2 separate regions of the Homo sapiens genome follow, and region 2 is linked to region 1. The links are contacts of gene promoters, found by promoter capture Hi-C in blood cells and fetal thymus (Javierre and others, 2016). All regions are on one chromosome and are shown on one strand. Each heading gives the region's core, a stretch centred on a gene start or on the middle of the fragment in contact. The rest is flanking DNA. Distances are from core to core; before and after follow the strand shown.

Evidence for each region. Contacts are between HindIII fragments. The CHiCAGO score rates a contact against its expected background, and 5 or more counts as called.
Region 2: the fragment with the promoter of MLKL here is called in contact with a fragment that was not itself captured in region 1 in 2 of 17 cell types (non-activated CD4 T cells and naive B cells); the score reaches 7.2 in non-activated CD4 T cells.

The regions. Positions count from the first base shown.
Region 1 is chr16:72,089,756-72,095,500 of GRCh38, forward strand. TXNL4B (thioredoxin like 4B) reads right to left here and starts at 3,865. Exons shown (of 4, transcript NM_017853.3): 1 at 3,612-3,865; 2 at 863-1,031. The coding sequence starts at 994. It overlaps DHX38 (DEAH-box helicase 38), which reads left to right and starts at 4,092. Exons shown (of 27, transcript NM_014003.4): 1 at 4,092-4,296. RefSeq lists enhancers at 3,638-3,967, 3,978-4,027, 4,088-4,387. The HindIII fragment of the contact is 817 bases long and covers 2,247-3,063 here.
Region 2 is chr16:74,698,262-74,704,006 of GRCh38, forward strand. It overlaps MLKL (mixed lineage kinase domain like pseudokinase), which reads right to left and starts at 2,601. Exons shown (of 11, transcript NM_152649.4): 1 at 2,192-2,601. RefSeq lists an enhancer at 2,055-2,504. The HindIII fragment of the contact is 1,546 bases long and covers 1,305-2,850 here.

The DNA of each region.
Region 1 (5,745 bases), core at 1,405-3,904:
GTGGTAACTGTCCTAAGTGCTTAACATTTGTTAACTCATTTAATCCTTACATCATTCTTATAAGGTATATGCTATCAGAGTCCCCATTTTATAGATAGGGAAACTGAGGCACAGGAAGGTAAAGTAATTTGCCCCAGGTCACACAGCTCCTGAGCAGTAGGGCTGGGGTTTGAACTTTGGCAGTGTGGCTTCAGTGTCTACATCACTGACCTCTGTGGTATTTCCTCCTGCTTATGACTGAGGGTAGAATCCTCTGGTCCTTTTTTCCCCAAGCTAACACATCACACCCTCATTGTAACCACGGAAATGAGGATTTGTACGCTCAGCTCTTACACGGGATGGTAGCAGTAGAAATGGCGGTAAGAGGTCTTAGTTCTGGGTTAGGTCTCTCTCTGCATCAGGCACATACTGGAGGCAGCACACTAGAAAAGATTATTTGCAGCTACAGAAAACTGAGTTCAAATCTCAACTCTGCAATATAGTGGATCTGCACCTGTGGGAAATTACTTGACCTCTCTGGTTTTTTTTTTCCTACTGGGAAATGGGGCTACTATTATCCCACTATTGCGAGCACTGAAAAGATAGTGTTCACAGATGCTTGTTAATAGTTTTCTGCTCTTCCATCACCTTGTTGGTGAAACAGCATTGACAGCTTCTAGTGGGTAAGGACATCCAAGACAGATTCAGCACACACAGATTTGGGGGCTTGGTTCAGGGCAGGCACACAATCAGCTCTTAGTGAACTAACAAATGAACAGCTATATACCCAACCCTGACTACTCCCTCTCATGTACTACTCAGATGCTGAAGTGAGAATATACAGATTATTAATAAAAACCAATTATTTTAGACATTCACTTACAATATCATCTAGCTGCAGACAGACAGGATCTTCATCTCTCCCAAACCTGAGAACCAACACCTTCTCAGCAGTACTTTTTATCGCCTGGTCTACTTCCTTTTTGCTAGTCAGCTTGGGCAGTAGGAAGCTCATCTTGAAATAACCCAAATGTGAATCCTCACTGTCACTCCTGAAATAAAGGTGCAATGTTTAAAGACAGTTTAGATTAAGTGCGTGAGCCCTCATTAAAAAAAATTAATTCACAGAGTAGCTAATGTATTCACATGGTATGAAAGAAACATCATAGAAAGGTAACACTGTGGAGTTTCCCTCTCTTTGTCCCTGCTCCTTGGAACCAGTTTTCATTGTTCCCTCCCCCGGGCCAGATAACTGCTTTCATTAGTTTCTCATGTATCTTTCAGAGTTTTGTTATGCATTCACCAAAAAATACAAATATGCGTTCCGATATTTTTTTTCTCTCTCTCCCCACCCCCAAAAGATAGCCTATTGTATCAGTGTTCCAGCAGGAAAGCGATGACACTCTCAACTTTGGTAATTTGAAGGCAGTTTAATTAAGGCAGGTGTAGAAAAACAATACGGTAAAGTGTACTACTTTGGGGCTAGTAACAGCGGGATGCTGTACCCATCCCTAGGCCATGGGAGGAAGAAGCCACGGTAGGAAGCAGTTATAAGAATTGTGTGGCAGAAAGAGGTGAGTGGAGAGGACAGTGTATAGGAGGGCAGCCTGCTGTTAGGTGTTGCAGCCACTCTCCTCCCTCCCTCTGACCTTTGCTCATGCAACCACCGGCTGACTCCAACTGGAACCAGAGGGCAGGGGCCTGTTGAGGCAGGCAAACCTCCCTGTCCCAGAGCAGTCTAGAGGAGGATGAAGAATGGCTGTGGAGGGACCAATGGCAGATGTTCAGCACACACACTTTATCTACTCTTCAGCACTTTTCATTATTTCAAACCTAACCTATGAAGATTGCCCCATATCTCTATATAGAGAACATCCATATTCTCTGTCATGGCAGCATATTATTTCTTGCATGTGTTACACTTTTTAAACAGTCCTTTATTGTATACTTTATATTATTACAAGTCCTGGCTTAAAGATTCTTCGTGTGCACCTTACTAGGTGCACCTCATTACACGGCAAACAGATCAATTAAGAGTGTGTGTGAAAACTACAATACCATAAACAAATAATAAAATACTGAGGTACAAGGGACCTAATACAACCCCGTCATTTTACAAACTAGCTTGCTTACAGTTGCACTTTCTACTACAATGACAAGGACTAGAATACAGGCCACCAAATTTCTAGTCCAGGGGTCCTTCTACTACAATAATCTATTTTCATGATTGGTAGAAATTTCATTTTTGAGAAACTCTTTGACAAAGAAGCTTAGTTTTGTGGTCATCTATAAGAGACTCCATTGAGATGGTCGGTATTTTGAATTCAGTTCCAAATATGAAAAGGGAGGATTTCTTTTCCTATTTTTTTTGTCACAAGTCACATTTTAAGATACGAATTAGGCCAGGCTCACCCCTGTAATCCCAGCACTTTGGGAGGCCAAGGAGGGTGGATCACCTATGGCCAGGAATTCGAGACCAGCCTGGCCAACATGGTGAAACCCCGTCTCTACTAAAAATACAAAAAATTAGCCGGGCGTGGTGGCAGATGCCACCTGTAATCCAAGCTACTCAGGAGGCTGAGGCAGGAGAATTGCTTGAACCCTGGAGGCGGAGGTTGCAGTGAGCTAGGATCGCTCCACTGCACTCCAGCCTGGGCAAGGCAACAAGAGCGAAGCTCCGTCTCCAAAAAAAAAAAAAGGAATTATTTAACTAAAATTCACATAGGAAATAAGATTGTTCCAGCTATAGGTCATACTTTAAACAGGGACATTGATGGCCCAAAGGGACGTCATCAGATGTGAGCAGCAGAACAAATTACCAATGAAAGGGAAGGTCAAAGAGAAGACGGATCTGTCCCACTAGAATTCAAACAAACAGCAGTTCCTCCGTGTTACTGATCGAAAGGAGAAAGTAAGGGGAGAACAAAGTTGTTAGTGGTGAGGCTAGGGGTGCAACTGGACAAACGTTGGAAGCAGGAGAGGAAAACTGAGACCACATCTAAGAAAATGTCCATAGTAAATGATACCCACAGAGAATTCCCAAAAGAAGACGTACAAATGGACAGTAAATAAACTAAAAAGTTAAGCTTTACCAGTAAGCAAAGAAAAGCAAATTAAAACATATGTTTACAAAGTCACTGAATTGGCAAAAATTAAACAAGATAGTGGTAGGGGCAGGCACAGGGAGTTCCTGCTGGAATGCAGACACAAAACCTTTCTGGAAAGAAAACTGACATACTCTTTGACCAATAACTCCACTGCTTTCCTCTCTCCCTCTCTTTTTCTGAGGCGGGGTTTCGCTATGTTGCCCAGGCTGGTCTCAACTCCCCAGGCTCAAGCAATCCTCCCGCCTCAGCCTCCCGAGTAGCTGGAACCTCAGGCGCGCGCCACAACTGCAGAAACACCAAAAAAAGAAAAAAAGCTTGAACTCACTTTTGTACAGAATCTTACTACAATGTATTCCAGAAAAACAACTGGAAATCAGTGGTCATCTCTGCGTGTGAACGCATGGGTGATTTTTATTTACAGCCGGGCGCGCATCTCCATTTTCCAAAATATCCGATATACATATTTAAAGTCACCTGTGTTGCGCTGCTCCTGGCCCACAAGCGCTAAGGGACCCCAGCACTTACCTTACTCGTCCACGCCGCCTCACTCCCTTTCACTTTGTGGCTGTCAGCAACCACTTCTCGGAAGAGCCCGGGCGCGGACAGCTCCTTTCATCAGCCCCAAGCCGGACAGGACCCTAAGACCAAGTCACCCAGGGGCTGTTGCCTAGCAACCCTCGTGGCCCCGCTAGCGGGAAGGAAACCGAACAGAAAACGCACAAGCGCAGAAAAGAAACTCCTGGCCGTCGGTCGGCCCCCGCTCAACAGCCCAATAAACGGAAGAGCTTCTAGTCACCGCCCACCTTGCTCGGCTCTGACCGGAAGCTAGGCGTCACCTCCGCCCGTATTAAAGATGGTCGACCTTTTTCCCCTCCTTTTCCTGCCCCCAGACTAGAGGCGGGATGTAGTCTCTTAGGCTAAGAGTGATTGGTCACAAGGAGACTCGGAAGTGTCTGATCAGAGCCCCAGAGGAGGCCTTGAGAGCCTGTTGGCGTACCGTTCCACACTTGGATCCAGGAATCGGGCGTGTTCCAGGCTGCTCTCTATGGTAGCTTTGGGCGGATAGAGGGGGCGCGCAAAGTATTAAGGGACAATAATGGCCGCTTTCAAGGTGTGGATTTTGGCTCCTTGAGCCTGTCTGAGCGAGGGGTGGCAGCGCCGGCGCCCCAGAATCCGGGACAGAAGGGTCCCAAGAGTCGCGCTTGGTGAGGTGAGAGTCCCTTCTTCCTTCCTGGCCTGCCCTTCTGTAATCATGGCGGCTCTAGGCGGCGGATATTGGTCCCCTGCTCAGGTCCGGGCCCCAGTTTGGGGAGTTCCTCTGTCGTCCCTGTCACCCACCTTGCCTTACTCACCTCAGGGATGCTGCATCCGTCCTGGCCGCCTTGGCCTTCCTCCTTGCTCTGGTCAAATCCTGCTGCCTGGAGCGGCCTCGCTGAGATCCAGGGATGCTGCCTGGAGTGGCCTTGGTCCCTCTCCCAGGCCTCCGCTTTAACCCACCCCAGACTGTCACCGAGCCCGAGTAGGACTCCTTGTGTCTTCCTCTGCTCTCTCACAGTGTCATTTATACCAGGCAATCTGGTGGGCGATCTCTTCTACTAGAATGTCAGCTCCAGGTGGGCGGGGATTTTTGTCTTGTTCTCTGTTGCTATCGCCGAGAACAGCAATTGGCTCAGGGACACCCTCAGTGAATAATTGTTGAATGAATGAATCCAGGTTCTTTCTTCCCTGGCTTTCTCGTACGCCTTGTAGTTTCTTTGCCATTAATCCTTCTCAAGAATCTTGCTCTTTAGCTCCTTATTTGTTCGTCTCAGCAGCTAATGAAGTTCTCTCTGGCTGTCTCCTTGTCCTGTGTTGCTGGAATCTTCCCTTGCTGTCTCCAGAAATGTTTGGGTTCCTGTCCTCCTTTAATAAGTTTAAATTAATTCATTTTTTAATTTATCAAACGCTTATTTTGCTAGACATTGAGCTACAGCAGTCAACAACACATCCAGTGTTCTCTCAACTGCGTAGAATGGCAGTCCAGGGTACCTTTCCTAGTTTAGACAACTATTGAGTAGAGCCTGTATATCTTTACCTTCTTGTGTGGATTTCCTCACATGCGCACAGATGTCACCAATATGCAGCTTTCTTTTTTTCTGTTCTGCCTGATGGCATTTTCAAAATGTAACTCTTGTTTCTGCATTAATATTATGTGTCCAGTCTGTTTGGCAATACTCTGTAGAGCTGTGCATTTAATTAGAGTTTGGTAAACAATTCTGGATTCTGGTGGCATCTCCTTTGCTTTGCTAACTTGTTGGAATGAGAGGAATTATCCAAGCATCCAGAACTGATATATGTTGATGAGTGGCAGATGTGTAGTGAGAGGTAAAGAGGAGCTTGTTCCAACTTGAGTGCCAGAAGTCTTGTAGCCACTTAAATACTTCTCAGTAACACCTTTTCCTAACCTGGTGTTTCTCATAAATATTTTTGGTGAACATGGATTGTTATTAAACTGATTTTGGCTGCTGTGAGTAAATTGTTTTCTGTAAAACGCAGCTAGGCCAAGAAAAGCCACTAAAGTATGGAGAACATGGACGGTAGCCTTCTGCCCCATCTCTGTGCTGCTGTACCTGTTGTTTAAAGAGAGGAAGAGGTAGAACTCATGTAAAAAAATGGGTGA
Region 2 (5,745 bases), core at 1,351-3,850, 2.6 Mb after region 1:
TTTTTTTTTTTTAACAGCTCAGTGAAATAGGTAGGTTAAGTATTATCGCCAGTTTATGGATTAATTAGCAGCTTGGAGAAAATAATTGGCCTGGAGCCCAAGTATGGCTTTAAAACATGAGTAAGGCACTGGCAGAAGTGAAACTAAATAAATGAGCAATCGATATAGTTGTGTTTTTGTTGCCTGAGAGTTACAGTGATTGGGCAAGGGAGGTAACAGTTATTAGGGCACTCCTAAAAAGACTAGTGGATCTCAGACTACCCAGCTATTCCCACGTGCTAAGCAGATATCTTCAAGGCCATTTCTTGGGAATTGTGAGGGCAAAAGGTTTTACACTTTCTCTGTTGCACCAGAAACAGAAGCAAATGTGGCAATGTTGTTCAAGGAATCTTGCAAATTGTAGCTTCCTAGCTCTAAGCTCCAGTTATCTTACCAGCAGCCTCATCAGAAAGCCATATCTCAGCACTGAACTAATCAGAAAGGAAAATGGGGAAAATATCCCACCCATAGAACTGACAAACAATTTCAAATAATAAATTATACAGTGGTGGCATGGTATGAAGAAAATTGCAGCGGTCACATTGGCTCATGCCTGTAATCTCAGCGCTTTGGAAGGCCGAGGCAGGTGGATCACCTGAGGTCGGGAGTTTGAGATCGCCCGGCCAACATGGTGAAACCCCATCTCTACTAAAAATACTAAAATTAGCCAAGCATGGTAGCAGGCGCCTGTAATCCCAGCTACTCGGGAGGCTGAGGCAGGAGAATTGCTTGAACCCGGGAGGTGGAGGTTGCACTGAGCCGAGATCACACCACTGTGCTCCAACCTGGGCAACAGAGCAAAACTCCGTCTCAAAAACAAAAACAAAAACAAAAAAAAAGAAAGAAAGAAAATTGCACAAAACAAAGCTTGAAGAAAGGAGGAAAGAGAAGTGTTATATTTCTGGCTGGGAAGACTAAAACAGACCAACCCAGCAATCCTTCCCAAATTTAAATCCAATTTAATGCAGTTCCAATAAAACATCTACTGACATATTTTGGCATTAAATCAAAATGATCCTAAAGTTCATTTGAAATGGGAAATTAGTAGGGATAACCAGGATTTTAAAAAATAAAGAAAAGGGGACTTGCCTGTATGAAATTAAAATATATTAAAAACTGCAAAATATTGGGAAAAAGCACCCTACAATAACTTAAATTGTTTAAGGTCTTATTAAGTATATGATCTACAAGGGAAGAAAGGGAATATACATATATACACACTTAGACTGGGCAATTTGAATTTCTAGGAACTTATGATGTAGAAAAGCTTGTGTTTGTAGATAGATGGCTACCGAGATGTTCACTGCAGTGCTATTTATAATATGTAAAACAAACAGCTAAGAATATGTTCAGGCCAGCTGCAGTGGCTCACACCTGTAATCCCAGCACTTTGGGAGGGTGAGGTAGGAGGATCACCTGAGCCCAGGAGTTTGAGACCAGCCTGGGTGACAAAGCGAGACCCTGGCTCTACCAAAAAATACAAAAAAAATTTAATTGGGTGTGGTGATGTGCACCTTGTAGTCCTAGCTACTTGGGAGGATCTGGTTGGAGGATCACTTGAGCCCATGAGTTCGGAGGCTGCAGTGAGCTATGATTGTGCCACTGCGCTCCAGCCTGGGCAACAGAGGAAGACTCCATCTCTCAAAATAAATAAATAAAAAGAAAAAGGGGATTATGTTCATATGTTACGATGAGAAAACAGGTTACTAATTTTAAAAGTGAAAAATCTTTAAATGGTAATAACAATGCAAATTCACCTCTTCCCTCCAAAAAATAAAAAATAAAAATAAAATAAAATAAGTAAAGGTTATCAGGCATTTCCCTCTTCTCTCTCTCTCACTCTGTCTCTCTCTCACGCCTTCAGCCTGCAAACCTGAAGACTTCCTTTTTCTGAGAAGACATCAGGTAACTTGTTCCCGTGCCCCTGCCCTCCACGACCCCCACTGCTACTGGGCGTCTCGCTTTGGCGGAAGGTAGTGCGAGATCCGAGCAGGCAGCTCCACCATCAGAGCTGAGGAAATGAAACCAACTCGGTCCTGAGTTCCAGGAACTCGGACCGGGCCACCCTCACCCCTGGTTCTTCCCATCACCGTCCAGGAATTCGGCTGCAGCCCCTCGGCCCCGCCGCCTCCTGGGAAGACCCCATGCTCACCTTCGCGCCTCCCGAGGGGTGTGCGTCCAATCTGTCCCGTGCACAGTTCCAAAAAGCTCGCTCTTCCACCTTCTTTCCCACGACCGCCTCCTGCCCAGGCGAGAAGTTTGCAAACGCGAGGCCCGCGGGAGTTCCCCTGCGCCCCCTTTCCTGGTGCCCGCACCCTGCACTCTGCTGACTGTACCGGACGCCACACGTGGCTGGCGGCGACAAGGCGCCCCGATCCCTACCTGAGGGAAACCCCGGCCACTGCAGCTGCACTTGAGCAGGGTCCCTCCACTCAGCCACTTGGATGGCTGTTTCTGTCCAGTGCCCTCCGGAGGCCACTGCCTCAGGTCTGTGATGCCTGCAGAGAATGCTGCGACACTTCCCCCTCCGACGTGGCTCCAGCTGCCAACCACCAGGCTCACGGTGCCCTGGCTCCCTGGAGCCGCTTTCTAGGCAGCTCGGAGCCACGGCCCCTCCCTTCCTTCCTCCTGTCCTTTCCACACTCTTCCTGCCTTCCCCAAAGTCACTGGGTAACTACGCTGTACACGTCAGTACCAAGCCTTCTTTAGGGGCTGGGGATTCAGAATAGAATAAGGTCCCAGCAACTATTATAACCAGGACACAGTATGAGAAGGACTGGAAGTTTAGAGAAAAACTGAAAGTTGGAGAGAAGCTTCTGGTGTTTGCTTCTCTGTGCTGGATAATATTGGCGGGGTGGGGAGGGTACGAGGGAAGAGACACCAAAGTGGGAAAAAAGTCACTTCCTCTTCTAAGGTCATTGCAGAACATCCTGTTACAGTGTGAGTCAGGTTTTCTTAAGATTAACTACATCTTCAGCTAGAAAGTCTAAGTAGTGTTATGCATTTACTCAACAGACTATTTGCCTCTAAAAGAACAGAACTGGGAGCTGGGTGTGGTGGCTCATGCCTGTAATTCCAGCACTTTGGGAGGCGGAGGTGGCCAGATCACCTGAGGTCAGGAGTTCAAGACCATCCTGGCCAACATGGGGAAACCCTGTCTCTACTAAAAATACAAAAATTAGCCAGGCGTGGTGGTGCATGCCTGTAATCCCAGCTACTCGGGAGCCTGAGAGGGGAGAATCGCTTGAAGCCGGCCTTGGAGATTCATTTCTTCGCCTTGCTATTGTTCTTCGTCTCCTGCATCATCAGTTTTCTTCCTGTCTTAGGTGAAGAGATTGAGGTGAGGCAGGAGAATAGGGTCTGCAGGCAGGGAACATAAAGCTGATTCACGCTGACTTCTTAGAACTAAATAAAATGGACACATTTCAGCTATGACAGGAAATATTTTCTTCATTTACATATGGCGTTCACTGAGTAAGTGACTGAGCAACTTCACTTCATCTTCTTCATTTACATAGGGTGTACACCAATTAACCAATGGGAGCCTCTAGAGGGTATTTAAATCCCAGAAAATTCTGTAACGGAGTTCTTGAGCCCCTATGCTCACGCTGGCTCCCACCCTGTGGAGTGTACCTTTGTTTTCAATACATCTCTGCTTTTGTTGCCTCATTCTTTCCTTGCTTTGTGCATTTTGCCCATTTCTTTGTTCAAGATGCCAAGAACCTGGACACCTTCAACAAGTAACACAGGTGCCTGTGATTTATTGAAGGAAGACTCTTAGGAGAGTGGTGGGTATGATAGGGCAGAGGAAGAAAAAGTGAAACAAGTATGTAGTCAGTGGAGGCTCCATGGGGAGGTCTGGAATGTGAAGGTCTGGAACAAGAGGCAGCCTCCTTTCTGCCCAGGGCAATTCTTCTGGACGAGGGGGAAGCTGTGTGAGTGTTTAGCTGTCAACACTCATAGCAGCTGCAGGATGGGTATACTGATCTGCTATAAACAAAATCATACAATGTATAACCTTTTGGAAGTTTTTTTCTTTTCTTTTCTTTTTTTTTTTTTTTACTGTCCCACCATCAATGTACAAGACATTCAGTTTCTCTGCATCCTCAGCAGCATTTTATTTTGTCCCTGCCTGAATTTTTAGCTATTCTAACAGGTGAATAGTGATATATCATCATGGTTTTTTGTTTTGTTTTGTTTTGAGATAGAGTCTTACTCTGTTGCCCAGGCTGGAGTGCAGTGGCGCCATCTCAGCTCACTGCAACCTCCACCTCCTGGGTTCAAGCGATTCTCCAGCCTCAGCCTCCCAAGTAGCTGGGACTACAGGCGTGCACCACCACACCTGTCTATTTTTTGTATTTTTAGTAGAGACAGCGTTTCGCCATATTGGCCAGACTGGTCTCGAACTCCTGACCTCAGGTGATCCACCCACCTTGGCCTCCCAAAGTGCTGGGATTATAGGCATGAGCCACTGCGCCTGGTCTCATCATGGTTTTAATTGGCATTTCTTTAGTGCCTGGTGATGATGGACATGTTTTCATGTGCTTGTTTGCCATCTGTATAGCCTCATTGGTGAAATGTCTGTCCATGTCTTTTGCCCATTTTTAGTTGAATTCTTTTTAAAAAACTTGAGTTTTGAGAGTTTAAATATTCTAGATATTAATCCTTTGCCAGATAGGTGGTGTTCAAATGGTGGTGGAGTAACTGAACAAAAAAATGAACTTCACCTAAACCTCATATTCTATGCAAAAATTGCCTGAATGGATCAGAGATTTAAATGTAAAATGTAAAACAAGGAACCTTTTAGAAGAAAGCAGAGAGAACTGTGCAGAATGAAAGGACATTTCCTGTTGAGAAAATGTAAATGTTTGAAAAAAGTTTAGGGCCGGTCGCAGTGGCTCACGCCTGTAATCCCAGCACTTTGGGAGGCCGAGGTGGGCGGATCACGAGGTCAGGAGATTAAGACCATCCTGGCTAACACGGTGAAACCCCATCTCTACTAAAAATACAAAAAAAAATTAGCCGGATGTGGTGGCGGGTGCCTGTAGTCCCAGCTACTCGGGAGGCTGAGGCAGGAGAACGATGTGAACCCAGGAGGCGGAGCTTGCAGTGAGCCGAGATCGCGCCATTGCACACCAGCCTGGGTGGCAGAGTGAGACTCCGTCTCAAAAAAAAAAAAAAAAAAAAAGAAAAGAAAAAAGTTTAAATGAGCCCTTTAAAATGTTTTTATTTTTAGTAGAGACAGAGGTCTCCCTGTGTTGCTGAGGCTGATCTTGAACTTCTGAACTCAAGCAATCCTCATGCCTTGGCCCCCCAAAGTGTTGGGATTACGAGCTTGAGCCACCTTGCCTGGCCAAATGAGTCTATTTAATAAGAATGGCTATTCATACTAAAAATTGTACAATATTAAAAATAATTCCCAGTTTCTTTGGCTTTATCTTGGAGTTGCCATTTGAAAAAAAAAATCACAAACATTTGAAAAAAAAAAAAACTTGTAGAACATGTAGAAGAAAATCTTCAGAACCTAAGGCTAGGCGAAGAATTCTTAGGCATAACATCAAAGCCATTATTATTCTTTCTTCTTTTCTTTTTCTTTCTTTTTTTTTTTTTTGAGACGGAGTCTCCCTCTGTTGCCAGGCTGTAGTGCAGTGCTGTGATCTCAGCTTACTGCAACCTCCACCTCCAGGGCTCAAACAATTCTCCTGC